Linked DNA regions of Homo sapiens: all the other regions are linked to region 1. Evidence: promoter capture Hi-C in 16 types of primary human blood cells and fetal thymus (Javierre and others, 2016). All regions are on one chromosome and are shown on one strand. Each heading gives the region's core, a stretch centred on a gene start or on the middle of the fragment in contact. The rest is flanking DNA. Distances are from core to core; before and after follow the strand shown.

Region 1 (2,700 bases), core at 11-2,510:
GTCTTAATCTCTATGTGCTTCTGTAACAAAATCCCTGGAACTAGGTAATTTATAAATTATGGATACTTATTTCTTATGATTCTGGAGGCTGGGAAATCCAAGATCAAAGCACCAGCAGTGTCTGTGTCTGGTGAGAGCCTGGTCTCTGCTTCCAGGAGGGCACCTTTTTGCTCTGTCCTCACATGGCAGAAGGCAGAGGGGCAGAAGGGCAAAGGGCCTAGCTAGTTCCCCCAGCACGCATGTGGTCACTAACACCTTCATGAAGGCACATCCCTGCCCTGGCCCCCTAAAAGTCTTTTTTTTTTTTGAGACATGGTCTTGCTCTGTCACCCAGGCTGGAGTGCAGAAGCGCCATCCCGGCTTACTGCAGCCTCGACCACCCAGGCTCAAGTGATCCTTCCACCTCACAAAATTATTTTATTTTTATAGAGATGGGATCTCTCACTGTGTTGCACAGGCTGGTCTCAAACTACTGGGCTCAAGTGATCCTCCTGTCTCAGCCTCCCAAAGAGTTGGGATTAGAGGTGTGAGCCACCGCACTTGGACAAAACTTCTTATAAGGACACTAATCCCACCATAAGGGCCTGACCCTCACGACTTCATCTAAACCTCCCAAACGCCCCATCTCCTGGGAGGGGAACACCGGTCAGTCCATTGCACCTCCTTTACCTGGCAGACCCTACCTCTTGCTTTAATTCTGCTGAGGCATCACTTCCGCAGGAAATCCTTGACTAAGCACCTCATATCCCCCACCGCTTCACTCTAAGGTGACAACGCGGGCTTTAATTCATGTTTTGTGCTTACCTCTTTCATAGCCCTTGTCTCTGTTTTGTAATTATCTGTTTCTGGTCTGATTCCCTAATAGATCGTGAGTTCCTTGAAGGCAAGGCCTTTGTCTCATTCAACTGTGTTCTCCCAAACCCTAGAACACGGCCTGACCCATGGTAGGCAACCAATGATACTTTTTGAGTGAATAGAACAAAAAGTATTGCCCTCCTTAATAAAAGAAAACCTAGAACTTCAAGGCTGACATTGGCCTTCGCGTAGCCCAATCAGAGCGCTTTGCCCTTGCTGCAGAGGACTAAAGGACGCCACGCCGCCGTTGCCTAGTAACTGTCGCCGGAGGGAGGCGGGGAGGGTCGCAAGCGCGCCGCCGGCGTCCAATCAGGACCTGCGTTCCGGGAGCCAATAGCAGCTTCGAGAGCCGCTCACCTAGAGCGGACTACACTTCCCGTCACGCCCCGCCGCCTGGGGCTGGGCAGTGACCGTAAAGCTGTTCGCTCGGTGCGACGCAAGTCTCAGCTCAGCGCGCTTATCCTGGGTCCACCGGCGCTACCGCCCCCCGACGTGAGAGAGCGAAGTTCTTGGGCCGCGCTCCCTCCCTACCTGGGTGCCCTCCCCCTCCGGGAGCCTGGGTCCCCGGGGCGGTCGCGGCGGCTGCATCCTCAGGCCAGGCCGCGGGGGGAGGGGGCGGCACGGGCCTCCGAAAGCGGGGCCATGGAGCCCAGAGAGTCGGGGAAGGTAGGACTGGAAGGCCCGGGGGCCGCCCGCTCCCTCCCGAGGATCCCCGAGCCGGGCTCGGGCGAGGCGGGGCGGCTCGGGCGGAGGCCCCGCAGATGAGCCAGGCTTGCAGGGAAGGACTCGCCGGCCCGCCCTCTCTTCCCGCACTTCGGCGCCCGACCCCGGGAGGGTGGCGGAGAGGAGCGGACGCTTCCGTTCGGTGTCCGCGCATCCTCCCCGAGCTGCCGAGCGTCCGCTGGGTCGATGCTGGGTTGGGTGACCCCCGAGTGGAGCGATGCGAAGGTGCTTCCTGTTTTCCCCACCACCTTCGGCGTTTTGAAGAGGCCCTGCTAAGGCTTGGAGTCTGGATCGGACGCCAGTGGGAGCTGCAGGGTGGGACGCTTGAGGGCTTGACCCTGCCTAGATCCTCCTTACCAAGAAAGGGCTGAAAAGAGAGGGCATCTGGCATGCTTTTTGCCACTTCTGTTTCTAGGTTATGTACTTCATGGAATATCTGGGCATTGCTTAGAAACCTGTGTCATAAATTGGCTTTGGGCAAGAGGCTTTGAGTTGGAAGAAAAGGTGGAAAGAAAGTGCTTGGGGGCGGAGTTCAGGGATTTGACGGGATTGCCAGCGCTTCCAGGCCGTGTCATCCAAGACCAGTGTGGTTGTGGGCACATTAGCTTGGAGACAGTGGCAGCCTCTTGGGACTAACATCTTTCTGGATGTTGTTTGCTGCCAGTTCTTGAGTATTGTTTCTTATTTGGCACAGAGGAGAATTCTCTCAACAAACGTTTTCGACTGTTTATTGAGTCCCTTAAAAAACTGTCCATTTAATAAACATTTGTGATCTGTGATTTGCATTGAACGAGATGCTGGAAGTATGAGGATAAATAGGAAATGATCACCTTTCTCAAGGAGCTCTCCTGCAGTTTTCACTTCAATAACTTGGACACGCCTGAAAGGGTTGTCCCACACGAAAAGAGAGAAAAGGATAATGAGGTTCTTTTGATGCTGTAGTTTTTCCTGGGAAGACTAGGAAGGACTCTGAATTTCAAAAGAGGTGATTTCTCGCATGAGCATCTCTTCCATCCTCCCTCCCTCCACAAGCTACAGTGATGCATGTAGCAGACACGGCACCTACAGAGTACGTGGTCCAAGCCAATAAAGCTCAACAAAACCCAAGCAAAGATGGAGCTT
Region 2 (2,700 bases), core at 20-2,519, 640 kb before region 1:
GCTCACTGCAAGCTCCGCCTCCCGGGTTCACGCCATTCTCCTGCCTCAGCCTCCCGAGTAGCTGGGACTACAGGCGCCGCCACCACACCCGGCTAATTTTTTTGTATTTTTAGTAGAGACGGGGTTTCACCGTGTTAGCCAGGATGGTCTCGATCTCCTGACCTCGTGATCCGCCCGTCTTGGCCTCCCAAAGTGCTGGGATTACAGGCGTGAGCCACGGCGCCCGGCCTTATTATTATTTTTTGAGATGGAGTCTCGCTCTGTTGCCCAGGCTGGAGCGCACTGGCGCGATCTTGGCTCACTGCAACCTCCGCTTCGGAGGTTGAAGCGATTCTCCTGCCTCAGCCTCCCGAGTAGCTAGGATTATAGGCCCACGCCACCACGCCCGGCTAATCTTTTTGTATTTTTAGTAGAGACGGGGTTTCACCATGTTGGCCAGGCTGGTCTCGAACTCCTGACCTCAGGTGATCCGCCTGCCTCAGCCTCCCAATGTGCTGGGATTACAGATGTGAGCCACCGCGCTCGGCTAATTTTTATTTTTTATAGGGATGGGGTGTCAATATGTTGCTCAGTCTGGTCTCGAACTCCTGGGCTCAAGTCGTTCTCCTGCTTCAGCCTCTCAGAGTGCTGAGATTACAGGTGTGAGGCACCACGCCCAACCCAATTTCAAGGTGTTTGAAGAGGCCACTGTTAAAATGCACTGCACCTTACCTGGGAGAAAGAGCTCAGCCCTCTTTTGACACCTTAACATGAATCACTTCTCTATCATCCATAACAGTGCAAAAGCTCTGGGATGGGTCCAGGTAAATCTGGATTGGGAAGAAGGGGAGTGGGAGGTAAAGTCTGCAAAGGAGTGAGGGAAGGCAGAAGGCCAGAAGAAAGTGTCTGAAGACAGAATTACTCCTGCAAAATTTTCACAAGGGTCAGGCACTATTTTCTCCCGGGATGCCCAATACATTTGCAGAATTAACAGTAATCAAGCCCACAGTCCAGGTCCTCGCATAGTTTGGGCCTTTAAAGTCGGCCATCCCAGATTGAGGGGGCCTGACCCCTGGGCGAGGCCGCCGCCTCTCAGTTTTGGGGCGGTGGCGACCCCAGTCCGGGAGTGGCCCCGGTAGGTCCCCGCAGGCGGGCAGGAGCTCCGAGGCCATTGGCTGGCGCGCGGGCTGCCAAGGGGCGGGGAGCGCCGCCGAAGGGGACTGTTTGCTCCTACGGGCTGTAGATGGAGCTGTCCGGCCCCGGAGAGGGGGAAGGCGCCTGGAAAACGTTCTTCTTCTCCCTGGCCGACCCGAGCGGGGAACAGCACTCCCAGGATGCAGTTTGTGTCAACACGGCCGCAGCCTCAGCAGCTGGGCATCCAGGGCCTGGGGCTGGACAGCGGGAGCTGGAGCTGGGCCCAGGCTCTGCCCCCGGAGGAGGTCTGCCACCAGGAGCCGGCGCTGCGCGGGGAAATGGCCGAGGGAATGCCGCCCATGCAGGTGGGAGAACCCCGCCGGCGCCATGGCCGCGCTGCCGTGGGGGCGGGGCGCGGGCTGGGCCGCGGGACCGGGCCGCGCCGTCCTCCGGTAGCCTTGCGGCGCCCTCCCAGCTTCCGCGCCCAGGCGAGGCCCGAGGCGGGCGGGGCACGGCCGGGCTGCGCGGCGGGCAGGACGGAGCGGGCCCGACGCAGGCCCGGAAGGGCAGGCCTGGCCCGCGCGGCGCGGAGCAGCGGTCGCCGGGCCCAAGTGCGGAGGCCCCGCGGGGCGGGGGCCGGGACCGTCCTTTCCGGGACCTGGCAGAGCTCTGACCCTGTGGCTGAGCCCCGGCTTGGGGCTCCCTTTGCGCCCGGCCGGCGGAGAGCTTCGCGGGCAGTGCTTCCGCCCGGCCGCAGAAGTGAATGCCTCGTTCGTGTTTACACGGTGGCCAATTTGACGGGGATATTTTTTAAATGTTTGATTACCACCTTTCACCAAGTGTAATGAGTAATTCACTCTCCCCCTGCACCGGGTGTGATCCAGGGAGGGGGCCATGGAGAGATGACTTCGGGGTCTTTCCTGCGGTTGACAAACTTGGCCGCATGTTGGAATGGCCTGGGCAGCTTTTAAGACTCCTGAGCCCTTGCCTGGTCCCAGAGCTCAGGGTCTCTGACGGGTGAGAGTAGCACCAGGCATTTCTTCAGGCTCCATCGATGATCTCCGTGGGCAGAACCGGTGCTCCAGAATTGGGTATAAAACCAGGGGAGGTGGATCCTCAGAGAGGCCTGAAAGCTTGCCCAGGGAAGACTCTCTGGGCCCACCCTGGGGCTGGGCTGCTCAGGGGCCCCTCTGCTCACCACGCGGCTCTCAGCCAGGTGCTAACGAGGGAGCCAGGGGCTGCTGTGTTGTGTTTGATCATTTTCAGGGTTAGGGCTTCAAACCCGAGAAAACTAAACTGGGCCCCGGGACTTTCTTAACTTCTACTGTGGACTCTGTCCCCTTCTGTGGGCTAGGGCGGAGTGGAGCCTCTGTGATGGAGGAATGGGTGCTTTTGATGGAAACACCAGCACCTCTTACTGGTATTACAGGGCCTGGCGATCCTAGGGCCCTGCTCTCCACTCTGCTGTGTCCCGGAGCAGGTCTGCCCCGGAGCAGGGCTGCTCTTGAGTCAGAGAGTGGGGCTGGTCTGCCCAGATCGCCCCAAGCAGCAGGCCTCCCCTTTTCCTAGCCTGAGGGCCTTTTCTGC
Region 3 (2,700 bases), core at 75-2,574, 580 kb before region 1:
GAGGGTAAAAGGCTTTAAGCATTCAGAGAACAATTATTTTAGATGTGAGACATTAGGGAAGACTTCGTGATAGGTGGTATTTGAACTGGCCTTTTAAGGATGGGAGGAAGGACATTCTAAATGGAGGTGACATGACCAAGTCAGGAGACATTATGGGACATGTACAGAAGAGGAGTTCATCCAATTTCGGGAGGGTGGAGTGTGAGAAGGAGAGTAGTGGGTGTTAAGAGTTGGGTCAGGCTTCAAGGAGTCTGGATTTTATTCGGTTGATAATGGGGAGCTGAAGAATTTTGAGCAAAAGAGTGACCTGATTCTAGCTGTGATTTGGGAATACTAATAAGAATTATACTGTGCTTTTTGGGGGGTGTGAGGTTTGGGATATGTTAGAAGGTTTCAAGTGAGATCAAGGAAGAGCCAGTGAGGACCTACCTGATTGGGTGCAGCTGCAGTGGGAAGGGAACAATAGATAAGACCAAGAAACAGTCACAGGATGTGATGCTGTGGGAATGGAGGGACCATTTTTTTTTTTTTTTTTTTTTTTTTGAGACGGAGCCTTGCTCTGTCGCCCAGGCTGGAGTGCAGTGGCGCCATCTCAGCTCACTGCAAGCTCCGCCTCCTGGGTTCAGGCCATTCTCCTGCCTCAGCCTCCCAAGTAGCTGGGACTACAGGCGCCTACCACCACGCCCGGCTAATTTTTTGTATTTTTAGTAGAGACGGGGTTTCATCGTGTTAGCCAGGATGGTCTTGATCTCCTGAGCTCGTGATCCGCCCGCCTCGGCCTCCCAAAGTGCTGGGATTACAGGCGTGAGCCACCGCGCCTGGCCTCAGGAGGGACCATGTCTTACTCCTATCAGCCTCCACAGCTCTCAGCACAGGTGCTTGGCACATAGGTGCTCAGCAAATGTTTGCTGAATGAGAAAGTATAATGGGTGTTCACAGAATAGAGAGCTGGGTGTTGTCTGAAATAGAGAAGGCTTCTATGGAGGAAGTGGGATTTGGCTGTACTTCTGGTCTCCCTCTACTAATGCTTCCGTTCCTAACATCTTTATAATTCTGTGTGGGTCCACCTCCTAATCTAAATTACATTCCTGGCTTGGAGGATGAGGGAGCCACAGGAATTCTGTCTCTGACCTGCCACTATCTCTTGGCTGAGGATGTTCTGGTGGGGACAATGGCACTTGAGTGTGCTGACCTCTTGTTGAGTGACCCTGGGTACTACTTTGGTGGCCCTCAAATTGTGACAACCCTACCTTCTGCAGGTGGAGTCACCCTTGTTACTCCACGGACTGGGCCTCCACTGGATGTTGTCAGTTCACCCAGAGATAATCAGGTCCTGGAAATCTGATCCCCCAAAAAACAAACTCACAAGAGACAGATTAACAATTAAAGATGAATGTAGGCTGAGCGTGGTGGCTGATGCCTGTAATCCCGGCACTTTTGGAGGCCGAGGTGGGTGGATCTCCTGAGGTCAGGAGTTTGAGACCAGCCTGGCCAACATGGTGAAACCCCGTCTCTACTAAAAATACTAAAAATTAGCCTGGCATGGTGGCAGGAACCTGTAATCCCAGCTACTCGGGAGGCTGAGGCAGGAGAATCTCTTGAACCTGGGAGGTGGAGGTTGCAGTGAGCCGAGATCGTGCCATTGCACTTCATCTTGGGCAACAAGAGCGAAACTCCGTCTTAAAAAAAAAAAGCCACCATGTAATTTTAATTTATATCAGAGCTGGCTTGACACCCCGGCTGGTCTGCTCAGAAACCACATTATGGTGCAAAGTGTTCGTTTATTAAATATATTTATAAAATCTGAGCATGGGAATGGGAGGTAGCTGTGGGACCCTGATAAACAGTGCCAAGGTTTTCGAACTGTGATCACCAGACCAATAGAATCAGCATTTCTTGGGAACTAGTTAGAATTGCAAATTCGCATCACTTTCATCCCCTCCTGTTTCAGACCTAGAAATGTTGAGGTTTGTGCCTAGCATCCTGTATTTTTAACAAGAACCCTCAGTGAACATGATGCACACTGAAGTTTGAGTACCACTGACTTAGAGAAACTTTTTTTCTAAAAAACGAAGACTAGCTGTCAAACATTATAGCACTCTTTCCTCAACAGAGCTCATTAAATCCTAGCATTTTTGTCTCCAGCCCATTTTCCTGACCCTTTCTTTCTTTCTTTTTCTTTTTTTTTTTTTTTGAGATGGGGTTTTGCTCTTGTTGCCCAGGCTGGAGTGCAATGGCATGATCTCGGCTTACTGCAACCTCTGCTTCCCGGGTTCAAGCGATTATCCTGCCTCAGCCTCCAGAGTACCTCACCACCACACCCAGCTAATTTTTTGTATTAGTAGAGATGGGGTTTCATCATGTTGGCCAGGCTGGTCTCGAACTCCTGACCTCAGGTGATCCATCCGCCTCAGCCTCCCAAACTGCTGGGATTACAGGCATGAGCCACGGCTCCTGGCCCATTTTCCTGACCCTTTCTGTTTGCATTGGACCTTAACTGTTATTCTATAACGTCACCATTTACTGGTATTTTATAATCCTGAATAGATTGGACTGATCCCTGATAAGATCCTAGGGATGCTCTTAATGTCTTTAGTGCATACTTGCAGTTTGTGTTTTAGATTGGGATAGTTCAACAAGAATTTCCAAAATGAATAATGCCAAATATTTATTTGATTTGTTACCTTAAAGTAACACGTC
Region 4 (2,700 bases), core at 22-2,521, 600 kb before region 1:
GTACAACAAATGGAGGATACAGTAGACAGACATTTCAGTGGAAGAGATACAGATAATTAATATGTAAATGAGTGAAAAAGAGAGATTACTTCAGATGGTGATAAATGGTATGAAAAATTTCCAGCAGGGTAACGAGATTGAGTATTGAGATGGAGGATGGTGTGGGGCTGTAGAAAGGGGGGACTGGGGATATCTCTCTGAGGATGTAGAATCTGAACTGAGCCCTGCATGTGAGGAAGGAGCCAGTCATGATCTTAAAAGTTTCGTTCTCCGCCGGGTGGGGTGGCTCACACCTGTAATCCCGGCGCTTTGGGAGGCTGAGGTGGGCGGATCACCTGAGGTCGGGAGTTTGAGACCAGCCTGACCAACATGGGGAAACCCCGTCTCTACTAAAAATACAAAATTAGCCAGGCGTGGTGGCACATGCCTGTAATCCCAGCTACTAGGGAGGCTGAGGCAGAAGAATCGCTTGAGCCCGGGAGGTGGAGGTTGCAGTGAGCCGAGATTGCGCCATTGCACTCCAGCCTGGGCAACAAGAGCGAAACTCCATCTCAAAAAAAAAAAGTTTCGTTCTCAGAGGAAACACTTCACGCCTATCCTGTGAAGTGGAAGTTCATTGCTTGTCTCCAGAGAGACAATGGTATAAATTAGGCAGCTATGGTTGCCGTAGTGTTGCTGGTATTGGGGATTAAGTACATGGCGATTAAATGGTCATGTGGCCGTGCTTTCCAACAAAAATTCCAGACACATCGTCTTACATGTAGCATGAGGACTGGAAATATTTGAAATCAGGGTTGTCTTGGACTTTCCAAGGCACATGATTACCATAATTAACAGGCTACAGAGGGCTGGCCTGGGCCTGACCCCACGCTCCACACTGTTGATATGGAAACTGTTCCCAGTTTCTAAAAAGCCAAATAACAGGTGAACTTTTGGAATAAAATCACTTGCCTTTTGGAACCATATTTCTTTTCCCCAACAACATTACATGTTCTTTCCTCAGCAAAAAGTCTGAGTTGTACACATTTTTGAATCCCTCAAAGCATTTAGCAGAGTGCTGGGCATACGGAAGACAGCAGGATCCCGTGGCTTTGCCTGAAACGCGGAACCTGGTCTTGACTTTTGAGTGACTGAGCCCTCCTGGTGCCCGCACTCTGGCCGGGAGTGCCAAGCAGCGTTCTCCCTCCCGCCGCACGGGGGCACAATGGGAAGCCTGCACAGTGAGGAAGAGCGGCTGGAGCCGGTCTTGTGCCGGGGAGGTCGCTGCTCCCAGAATGCACCTGGCATCAACACGGCGGCGGCGGCGGCGGCTTCCAACAGGCTCTGGGGCGCCGAGCGGACAGGAACGCAGCACGGGGGCTCCGAGGCGGGGTCTGGGTGTTGAGGGGCGACTGGAGCCATGGCGGAGTCGGCGCCTGCTCGGGTAAAGAGGCACCGGCGCGCTGGCTCGAGGGCGCGTTGGGGATGGCGGAGTCCCCTGCCGGGGGCGGGGCTTCGCGGTTTGGACGCCGCCGGGGTCTTGGTTTCCCGGGGCTGCCGTTGGCGCGGGTGAACGCGGACCCTCCTCTTCGCGACCCCAGTGCTCTGCCCTTTTTTCCCTCCGCTTCCTTCTGCAGCGGGGTCGGAGCCTCGGCGCCGTGCGCCCTTGCCCAGAAACTTCTCTGACGCTTGCTTTAGGTTGGTGGATTTGTGACCCTGCCCACACATTTTCTCTTTCGTGCCAAAAGAGCCCGTTCCCAGGTTGGAGTGTTTCCAGATTGGAAACGGTCTCCGTCGCTACGAGTGAGCTCTCCCGCTGCCCGGGAGACCCCAGGACTTGCCTCTCTGCGACCACCTCCTCTTCGGTCCGATGTGTTGTCGGTTTTTCCAGTGCTGCAGATTTCTGTCTGGGGGTTGCAGCCACAGGTTGAAGTCAGCCTGGGCTGCTTCTCCTTGGGGACGGATGTTATCTACAGTGCAGTTGCTGCATTTTGTTTGTAGAGCTGCCCAAACTCTCTCCTTCACCCCCCCCCCAACACCCCCCTCCCAGCCCACCGACCATCCCCATTCTGGGAATGTCAAGATACGGAGTTTGGTGTGAGGAAAATCCTATTTGTGGAGTCACGAAGCTTTCAGCTGTCCATTTGGGTGATTTTAGGCAACTGTGTTCGCTTCTCTGGGTCTCTTTCGTTTTCTTAACTGTAAATCGAGAGTGTTGGAGTAGTTGCTAGATGATCTCCAAGGCTTTAAGTTTCCTTCCAGCTCCGACATTCTCATACTGTTCCCATACTGTTTCAAAGTAGTGGTTAATTTAACAACACCAGAGGGTTTGCAACGGAAGGGGCAGCTGGAATTGAATTGACTTTTAATGAAGTGTTCCTTGGTCTAGAAACACTTCGAGAATCATGTTAGATCTTTGTGAGAATGGAGGGCTAAGGAAATTCTGTGGGGAAAATTTGACCATGAGCAGGGTGCGCTATATTTGATTCTTGTAGAAAGTGCGTTAAGAACTAAGAACGGAGAGATTGGGAGACTTAGAGAACACAGTATTTGCTTTCAAGGAAGTTAACAGTTGAATTGGGAAGACAAGACACAAATGTTTACAATATTAACCTCATCTGACTCCTATAAGCTAGGCTGAGCCAGTCAAAGACTTGGCTTTTCCACAAGATCTAGTTAGTGTTAGAGTCCGGCGAGAGGATTCTGCCACAGTTCTTCCTG
Region 5 (2,700 bases), core at 104-2,603, 570 kb after region 1:
ATAAACAAAGAGCTGCCGCCTTTAATGTTTAACCGAGGTCACTTTCAAGTTTACAGGGTTGTGTTTTTTTTCCTGTTTTAAGCTTCACAAAAATATCTTTAAATCACTGATAATGCCACCCTTTTCTCCAAGTTTGGGGTGCACTTCCCTACCTCCCCCTGTCCTTGAGATCTGGTTGGAGGGATAAGACATATCTAGACGAAGGTAACTGAAAATCCTAGCTGAAACTGAAACTGAAAATCCTAACTGAAACTCATCACCATCTGTCTAGTGTCTTGTGTGGCTGGCTGGCATGGTGCTAGGTGCTGGGGTTGAAAGAAGGCAGCTCTGTCCTTAGGGTGCTGGGAGTCGGGGGACAGAGGTGGCATGACTGACCCTCGTGCAGTATGATCAGTGAGAGCCACATGGTTGTGTCACACGGTGTTTAAGCCCGGGGTGGAAAGGTCAGGGAAGGCTTCTAGGAGAAGGTGCCCTTGGGAAGGGACTGGAAGGAGTGTAGGCCGTGCTTAAAAGGCAGTGGAGGAAGAGGAACACCAATTCCCAGCAGGGGAACTTGAGCTTGAACAAAACGGGGCGAAAGGTGGAGGTTGTGGGAGGTGAGTGTCCCTGCCAGGCTGGGGGTTGGCTAACCCTCGTGTTCCCCGACCCCTCTCTCTCCACCCCCCACCCCCGCCCCCGCTTCTGTCTCCCTAGGGACTGGTGATTGCAGCTGGAAGTGCCCATGACCGAGCTGGCGTCCTCCGGGGGCGGGTCCCCTGCGGGGGACGGGGAGGAGGGTCTGGGGGACGAGCGAGGCCTGGTCATCCACCACCCTGCAGAGGAGCAGCCCTACCGCTGCCCGCTGTGCGGCCAGACCTTCTCGCAGCAGCCCAGCCTGGTGCGGCACCAGAAGGCGCACGCCGGAGCGGGCCGCGCGGCTGCCTTCGTGTGTCCCGAGTGCGGCAAGGCCTTCAGCGTCAAGCACAACCTCGAGGTGCACCAGCGCACGCACACCGGGGAGCGGCCCTTCCCCTGCCCCGAGTGCGGCCGCTGCTTCAGCCTCAAGCAGAACCTGCTCACGCACCAGCGCATCCACAGCGGCGAGAAGCCGCACCAGTGCGCGCAGTGCGGCCGCTGCTTCCGCGAGCCGCGCTTCCTGCTCAACCACCAGCGCACCCACGCGCGCATGCCCGCGCCGCACCCGCGCCGCCCCGGCGTCTTCGGGGAGCGGCGGCCCTACTTCTGCCCCCGCTGCGGCAAGAGCTTCGCGCGCGAGGGCTCGCTCAAGACCCATCAGCGCAGCCACGGCCACGGGCCCGAGGGCCAGGCGGCCCACTTAGGACGCGTGCTATGATGCGCCCGGGGCCTGCTGCCGACGGCTGCTTCCCGCCCCGCACGTGCGTCCCCGACCCCTGGAGATGGCCCTGGGCCGCAGCTCCCTCTCTAGATGGGATCCCGGGAGAGGGGCAGCGCTGGCTTGGGCTCTTGAAGGTGTGGGCCGCCGCCAGGCTCCGGCCGCCCGCTCGCGTTCCTCCCTCGGGACCCTCTGGCTGGCTGCGCACAGCTGCTTCCGGCTCCTGCCATGGTTCTCCTTCTCTGGCCCATCCGGCCTAGAGCAGGTGAGACCTGCGGGGCTGGCCAGAGCCCCTCTCAGGGCTGGGAGTGGTGGGGGTGGAGTGCGTGGTGTTGATTCTTGATGGCAGGTGGGGCGGTCTGGGTACCGGGCTGTAGGTTTCTCTGTGATGAGCTGCTTACCGGATCTTCATCCCCAGAATGTCAGAGTTGAAAGAGACTTGGAGAGGCCACTTTCCACAAACCCCACGCCCAACCTCAGCCCCTAGGCCTCCTGGCTCCTGTACACACTCTCTGCTGTCCTTGAGATGTCATTTCACTTCATGTTTCAGTTTACTCATCTGTAAGTTGGGGATATAGATGAGGGACTCTTCCTCGCTGGGATATATTGCAGCTACTGGATGAGAGAGGGTGAGGTCACTGGTGCACAGAGCCTTAGTTGATTCTGCCACACCATGTGCCACTGACTGTGCCGGGCTGGGCTCTCCCAGAGACACACATGAGGACCGCAGGCCCTGACACGGGGTGCTCACACTCGGTGTGTGACGCGGGGCCAACCTACAAAGTGCTCTGGGGTGAGACCGAGGAGGGTGACTGGTTTCTCTTCGTCACCCAGGGGAGTTTGATGGCTTTGAACCAGGTCATGGGGACAAATAAAATTGTTCTAGGAAGAGCAAGTGTGTAGAAGGGTGTTTTCAAGGGAGGGGGGGTCCTGATAGTTCAGTGACTGTCTCCAGGTGTCCCAAGGGGAGGTTTGCCCTACAAAGGACTTCGTGGTCAGGGGGTGGGGACACTGAGATTTTTAATGAGATGAGTGCTATGATCTCAGACTTATGCTTTAGGAGGAGAATCAGAGGCACTGTGAGGACAGACTGATGTGGGAAGAGCTGGAGCCTCGAGGGGCTTGGGTCATCTGGGCAAGAGAACATAAGGCCCCCAGCTAAGAGGCCTGGCCAAGGTCTGGCAGTGAGAAAGGGGGCAGCCAGGACTCTGCTCCAGGACCTCTGGTTCCAAGCTGGCGCTCTGAGGCACGGGCCTCTTCAGCCTTTTGGCAGATGAGGAAACAGGTTTGCCAAGCTTGCCTACACCACAGTTGGTACTTAGGGGTACAACAGGTGGAAGCCAGGGCTTTGTTTTGGATTCTGAATC
Region 6 (2,700 bases), core at 38-2,537, 710 kb before region 1:
CAGAGAGGAATATTCCAGGAGATTCCCAATCACTTAAAGAGGAGAGAAAAAAAGAAAGCCTGGCTGTAGAAACAAAGCTTGGAGAAATCAGAAAAGAATCTGTACCTGCCAAAGGAGGGTGGGGAAAAGGAGTGGGAAGCAAAAGGGAAGAATCAAATGCAAATAAGGAGCATTACATTCCTAAGATTATAAAATTTCATTGGGGGCACAAGAAAAACTTGCACACTTAAGCAAGTTATACTTAACTGAATGTAACAGGGTTTCTTGGATTAAGCCTCAGGATACGCCTTTCAAACTCTAAAACCGGTGCTCAAATTTTCAATACTACATTACAATACTACAGCATTTACGGTAAATTCGATTTACGCTAACCACCCAATTCATTTTAAGTTTTCTGTCCTTTCCTAGAGGGAGCGGTCTCCAATTTCTCTCAGTTCCAGCTTTCCTTCTCCTTTTTCTCATCTGCTTAACACTGATGTGCTTCTCTGAAACTACCTTCAGCAGGAGAGCACGGGCCCCAGAGAGACCCCGAGGTTCAGAGCCCCGACACTGAAGGCAGGGACAGCGTTGTTGATCTGAGCCTACAACAGGCCGAGAAACAGATCTTTCCCACCCGGATTCTTTCTCCCAAACCAACTTTTATTTATGTATTAAACAGACGGGGTCTGGCTGTTGCCCAGGCTGGAGGGCAGTGGCTATTCACAGGCGCGATCCCACTAACGATCAGCACTGGGGTTTTGCCCTGCTCGGTTTCCGAGCTGGGCCGGTTCCCCCTCCCTGGGGAACCTGGTGGTCCCCGCTCCCGAGAGGTCACCACACAGATGCAGAACTCAGAGGCACCGCGCGACGGACCTAGCGCATATACAGCGCAGAGCTCCCGGGCTCAAGCGCTGCTCCCGCCTCAGCCTTCCGAGTGGCCGGGGCCACAGACGCGCGCGGCCAAGCCCGGCCAGACCAGCTTTTCCCCAGGTCAATTCCAGAACAGCACACGCAGCAAGACTGCACCTTCTCCAGCCCAGCCCGGAGCTCAGTCCGTGGGCCACTGCCAACCCCCAGGCCCAGGCCCCGGCCGCCCCACTCCCTGGACGCGGACCCCAATCCAGCTGCGACAGGGACCCGAGTTTCGACAGAGCCTGCATCCTCCACCGGCCCTTCTTACCGAAGCCGGCTCGGCCATGGCGGTTCCGCACGAACCGGCCCTGCCTGGCACGGCCTCCCCTCCGCTCCGCCCCAACCCAACTCCCAGGTACAGCCCTGCTGGCCCCCAAAGGCAGAGCCGGCCGGGCGCGGTGCATGCTGGGACTCGGCGCTCGGAAGCGGAAGCCGCTCCGCCCCATAGCGCCCCCTGCGGGCGGGAGGAGCGGCGCCGCCAGAGGGAGTCGGTCCTCAGAGGAGGGGCCCGGGCACCCTCCGTGCGGGCCGCAGCACGCCGGTCTTTGAGGGACCCTTGGACTCCCGGATCTGCATGCGAGGGATGCGGTCGAAGACGAGATGAGGGAGCTGACGGGAGGGGAAACGGAGGGGCAGGTGAACATGGAGAGAGCAGGAACAGGGAGAGAGTAGGGACAGCGACTGGGAGACGCGCTCCACAGAAACCCGGACTGAGAGGCAGCGAGAGGGTGAGAGTCCGGTGCTGTTCCTTCCAAAGCTGCCCCCAAGTCAGGGATGAGCTCGAGGGTTTCGTTTGTGAGGGGGTCCCGGGAATCCAGCGAGGCCGGGTAGGTGGTGGGGGGCGCGCGGTGGCCCGGGGTGTCCGTCCCGCCGGGGGCGCGGAGGCCGTGTGGGCCCCGGGCATGTCCCGTCGGGGACGCGGAGGAGGGGTCCGCCCACCACGTCCGGTCCCCGTGGGTGCAGCGCCCTTCTGGGCTCCCCGAGCGTCCACACTCCCTCCTTGGCAGAGAAAGGCCTCGGGCAGAGACCCCATGCGGAAGCCACCCCGGCCTCGGGGCCGCCTGCGGGGACTCAGGGTCGCCCAGGGATGCGGGCCGGGCACCCCTAGCCCCCGGCGGGAGACTGTGACAGAGCGGGAGAAGACGGAGGAGGCCATGACACAGGGCGTGAGAAACACGAAGACGCAAAAACGGGAGAGGTGGGAAGACGCAGAAGGGGAAACCAGGGAGAGACAGAAAGGAGAGAGAGGGCAAGGAAGGGGGTGGCGACTGTCCCCAGAAAATCAACCTCGCATTCTGTCCTAGTCATGTTTTAGGTGTCAGGCTAAAGTAACAAATGAAAAGTGTGTAGTTAGAAAGGATGTCCATGAGAAAGTAGTCCCTGCATAGGCTGAGGAGCGTGTGCACATCTGTATTTGTCCCGGAATCGTGAAATGTAGATGCACCTTACTGATTAAAGGGTTAAAAAAAAAAAACCTTACATTAAAACTAACGTTTCGGATGGGCGCGGTGCCTCACGCCTGTAATCCCAGCACTTTGGGAGGCGGAGGCGGGCGGATCACGAGGTCAGGAGAGCGAGACCATCCTGGCTAACGGCGAAACCCCGTCTCTACTAAAAATACAAAAAAAAAAAAAAAAAAAATAGCCGAGCGTTGTGGCGGGCGCCTGTAGTCCCAGCTCCTAGGGAGGCTGAGTCGGGAGAGTGGCGTGAACCCGGGAGGCGGAGCTTGCAGTGAGCCGAGATCGCGCCACTGCACTCCAGCCTGGGCGACAGAGGGAGACTCCATCTCAAAAAAACCAAAAACAAACA
Region 7 (2,700 bases), core at 175-2,674, 690 kb before region 1:
TATTTTTTTGTAATCTACTCATATTGTGAGTCAGAGAATGGCAATTTTCATTATTAAGCATTCACCATCTGACAAATATGTATATTCAGGTAAATCCCAAATTACGGACTGCATATGTAGCCACAGGCGAAAAGTAACTTAGTCTGCTCAAGAGCAGTTGCCCCAACAGGATAGTTCTCATACTTTTGTGATTTACAGATAGTTATACTGTTATGGGCATTGACTTGATTCATGTGTTGAAATACAGGTTTAGCAGGGTTTGATTCATACATGTTTGAAATGAAGACTTCCTGGAAAACCAGGGTCATGTGCTTATCCTATCACCACACACATGAAACCGCCCCAACAGGGTTCACAAAAATTGCATGCAGGTTCTGGACAGAAATATAGTTATAATTAAGCATTAATCAGGCTGCACTTCGGCCTACTTCCTTGTTGCTAATAGTCACAAGGCACTAGATACTGACATTTGCATCTCTATTGTTCCTATAGATAGGATTTCAGACATCAGACTAAGAATTGATTTGCATCCCTGTTGTTCCTGTAGACAGGATCTCTGACATTAGAATCATAAGGCTTTTGTTTAAGGATCGCTTAAGATGTTTTTCAGACCACGAGTTCCGGTGAAACAGTTGAGTTCAACCAGTTTGAAGACCCCCCACAGAGGAATGGGATGAGCATGAGAATGTAGTTTCTTCATCTCCTTGTACCACGATTTCACCAGCACTCTCCCACCAATCAGTCAACTCCATTACCCTTACAAACTCTAACCCCAAATTCCCAAATTCCTAGCAGAGATGGATGTGAGGCTTCTTCCTGTCTCCTCCTTAGGTGGCCCTATGATTAGACCTCTTTCTCTGCTGCAACCTGGTGTCTCTGCATATAGACTTGCTATGTGCATTGGGCAAGGAACCTACTGCTGTTACACACACTCTGTTGACTTAAAACACAACCTCACCAGAAAACACTTTGTTCTCGCAGGTCCTTTTTTTTTTTTTTTTTTTTTAAGATGGAGTCTAGCTCTGTCGCCCAGGGTGGAGTGCAGTGCTGCCATCTCTGCTCACTGCAACCTCCGCCTCCTGGGTTCCAGCGATTCTCTTGCCTCAGCCTCCGGAGCAGCTGGAATATCAGGTGCACGACACCACGCCCGGCTAATTTTTGTATTTTTTAGTAGAGACGGGGTTTCACCATGTTGGCCAGGCTGGTCTGGAACTCAGGTGATCTGCCCGCCTCGGCCTCCCAAAGTGCTGGAATTACAGGCGTGAGCCACTGCGCTCGGCCTGTTCTCGCAGGTCCTTTTGCTCAGACGCAGCAAACCGTAACCCCAAGCTCGATCTCTGCTGCTCTCAGGAATTCCACTTCCTCCAGCTTGGGCAACATAGCGAGACCCTGTCTCTACAGAAAAATAAATAAGTAAATAAATAAATACAAATAAATAAAACATTAGCCGGGCTTGGTAGCTGCGCCTGTAGTCCAAGATGCTCGGGCAGGCTGAGGGGAAGGATCGTTTGAGCCCAGCAGTTTAAGGCTGCAGTGAGCCTTGTTTGTGCCACTTGCACTCCAGCCTGGACGACAGAGGGAGACTGTCTCTAAATAAATCAATAAATAAGGCCGGGCGCAATGGCTCACGCTTGTAATCCTAGCACTTTGGGAGGCCAAGGCGGGTGGATCATTTGAGGTCAGGAGTTTCAGACCAGCCTGGCCAACATGGTGAAACCCCGTCTCCACTTAAAAAAAAAAAAATTAGCTGGGCATGGTGGTACATGCCTGTAATCCCAGCTACTTGGGAGGCAAAGGCAGGAGAATCGGTTGAACCCGGAAGGCGGTTGCAGTGAGCCGAGATCCCGCCACTGCACTCCAGCCTGGGCGACGGAGTGAGACTCCGTCTCTAAATAAATAAATAAACAAAAATTAAGAATCCTATTTCCAGACCAGGCCCCGGAGAGTCAATAATCCGAGATGTGAAGGAGACCTTAAAATATTATTGATCCCAACACAGGCCGCGTGGGACCTGAACCGCCTCACCTTGGCAACCACATTTGTAATTTCCGCAAATGATCTATATCTTCTTCATTCCAAAATTGTGCCTCTCCGTCACTCATTCCACCCATAGGCTCCCTTCAGCCGTGTCCCCCTTACTCTCACCCTGCACATTTCCGCTGTTCTAAATACGGCTGCCCTTCAGCAGAAGCTGTTGCCTGCAGACGGCGCCTGCGTATCGAGCCTCCGTGAAGAAAATCACTCCCCAGAATGAGCCCGGCTTTGCGGCTGGGTCCTAAACTGCGGTGAGCTGAACCTTCTCGTGGGAATGTGAGAAAGCGGAACACACGTGGGCCCCAAATAACAACCCTCCCCACACCGAAGCCCAAGAGCTGGGGGGGAGGGGCGGAGGCGACGCGGGGGGCGCTGGCCGCAGGGGCCGGCAGGGGGCGCGCTGGCCGCGGTGGCTGGGCAGCGCGAGCCTGCGGCGCGTCTAGGCCCGCGCGGTTCCCGGTGCACTCGCTGCCCACAAAGCGCCAGCTGAGGGGCCGCTGCGGGTGGAGTGCGGCGGAGTCGGCCTCGCGACCCCAGCTTGATCCGCCGCCTGCTGCACCGCGCCTCCGCCGCGTTCCTGCGCGTCCCGAGCCCCGACGGCCGCGTGAGTCCCGTCCGTGCGGGGAAGGCAGGGCCGGGTCGGCGCCGCCTGTGGAGAGGACCCGG

Evidence for each region. Contacts are between HindIII fragments. The CHiCAGO score rates a contact against its expected background, and 5 or more counts as called.
Region 2: the fragment with the promoter of ZNF282 here is called in contact with the fragment with the promoter of ZNF862 in region 1 in 2 of 17 cell types (neutrophils and total B cells); the score reaches 7.1 in neutrophils.
Region 3: a fragment that was not itself captured here is called in contact with the fragment with the promoter of ZNF862 in region 1 in 1 of 17 cell types (naive B cells); the score reaches 5.2 in naive B cells.
Region 4: a contact is called between the fragment with the promoter of ZNF212 here and the fragment with the promoter of ZNF862 in region 1, in 3 of 17 cell types (total B cells, naive B cells and erythroblasts). The highest score is 7.1, in total B cells.
Region 5: a contact is called between a fragment that was not itself captured here and the fragment with the promoter of ZNF862 in region 1, in 1 of 17 cell types (erythroblasts). The highest score is 5.1, in erythroblasts.
Region 6: a contact is called between the fragment with the promoter of ZNF425 here and the fragment with the promoter of ZNF862 in region 1, in 1 of 17 cell types (neutrophils). The highest score is 5.4, in neutrophils.
Region 7: a fragment that was not itself captured here is called in contact with the fragment with the promoter of ZNF862 in region 1 in 1 of 17 cell types (neutrophils); the score reaches 6.1 in neutrophils.

Annotation. Positions count from the first base shown.
Region 1 is chr7:149,837,115-149,839,814 of GRCh38, forward strand. It overlaps ZNF862 (zinc finger protein 862), which reads left to right and starts at 1,261. Exons shown (of 8, transcript NM_001099220.3): 1 at 1,261-1,521. The coding sequence starts at 1,498. RefSeq lists a silencer at 1,337-1,796. The HindIII fragment of the contact is 19,921 bases long and covers 1-2,700 here.
Region 2 is chr7:149,194,277-149,196,976 of GRCh38, forward strand. It overlaps ZNF282 (zinc finger protein 282), which reads left to right and starts at 1,270. Exons shown (of 8, transcript NM_003575.4): 1 at 1,270-1,478. The coding sequence starts at 1,314. RefSeq lists silencers at 938-1,227, 1,046-1,367, 1,488-1,847 and an enhancer at 2,288-2,337. The HindIII fragment of the contact is 5,667 bases long and covers 1-2,244 here.
Region 3 is chr7:149,258,396-149,261,095 of GRCh38, forward strand. All of the region lies in intron 1 of LOC124901769 (a long non-coding RNA gene), which reads right to left. Among named protein-coding and RNA genes, the nearest start is that of ZNF783, 2.4 kb to the right of the region's middle. The HindIII fragment of the contact is 3,317 bases long and covers 1-2,700 here.
Region 4 is chr7:149,238,380-149,241,079 of GRCh38, forward strand. ZNF212 (zinc finger protein 212) reads left to right here and starts at 1,272. Exons shown (of 5, transcript NM_012256.4): 1 at 1,272-1,423. The coding sequence starts at 1,400. RefSeq lists an enhancer at 1,039-1,333. The HindIII fragment of the contact is 6,599 bases long and covers 1-2,106 here.
Region 5 is chr7:150,406,891-150,409,590 of GRCh38, forward strand. LOC728743 (zinc finger domain-containing protein LOC728743) reads left to right here. Exons shown (of 3, transcript NM_001395976.1): 2 at 694-1,598. The coding sequence starts at 722. The coding sequence ends at 1,333. Among named protein-coding and RNA genes, the nearest start is that of ZNF775-AS1, 24 kb to the left of the region's middle. RefSeq lists an enhancer at 59-108. The HindIII fragment of the contact is 2,546 bases long and covers 81-2,626 here.
Region 6 is chr7:149,125,037-149,127,736 of GRCh38, forward strand. It overlaps ZNF425 (zinc finger protein 425), which reads right to left and starts at 1,288. Exons shown (of 4, transcript NM_001001661.3): 1 at 1,160-1,288. The coding sequence starts at 1,177. It also overlaps the pseudogene RN7SL521P and a transcript of ZNF398 not described here. RefSeq lists enhancers at 1-203, 451-1,002, 1,003-1,554, 2,218-2,267 and silencers at 713-886, 1,618-2,057. The HindIII fragment of the contact is 7,753 bases long and covers 76-2,700 here.
Region 7 is chr7:149,144,958-149,147,657 of GRCh38, forward strand. It overlaps ZNF398 (zinc finger protein 398), which reads left to right and starts at 2,496. Exons shown (of 6, transcript NM_170686.3): 1 at 2,496-2,700. LOC107986856 (a long non-coding RNA gene) reads right to left here and starts at 2,404. Exons shown (of 2, transcript XR_007060581.1): 1 at 2,026-2,404; 2 at 1-1,395. RefSeq lists enhancers at 126-699, 700-1,273, 1,274-1,847, 1,941-1,990, 2,422-2,700 and silencers at 2,301-2,700, 2,605-2,700. The HindIII fragment of the contact is 4,715 bases long and covers 1-2,700 here.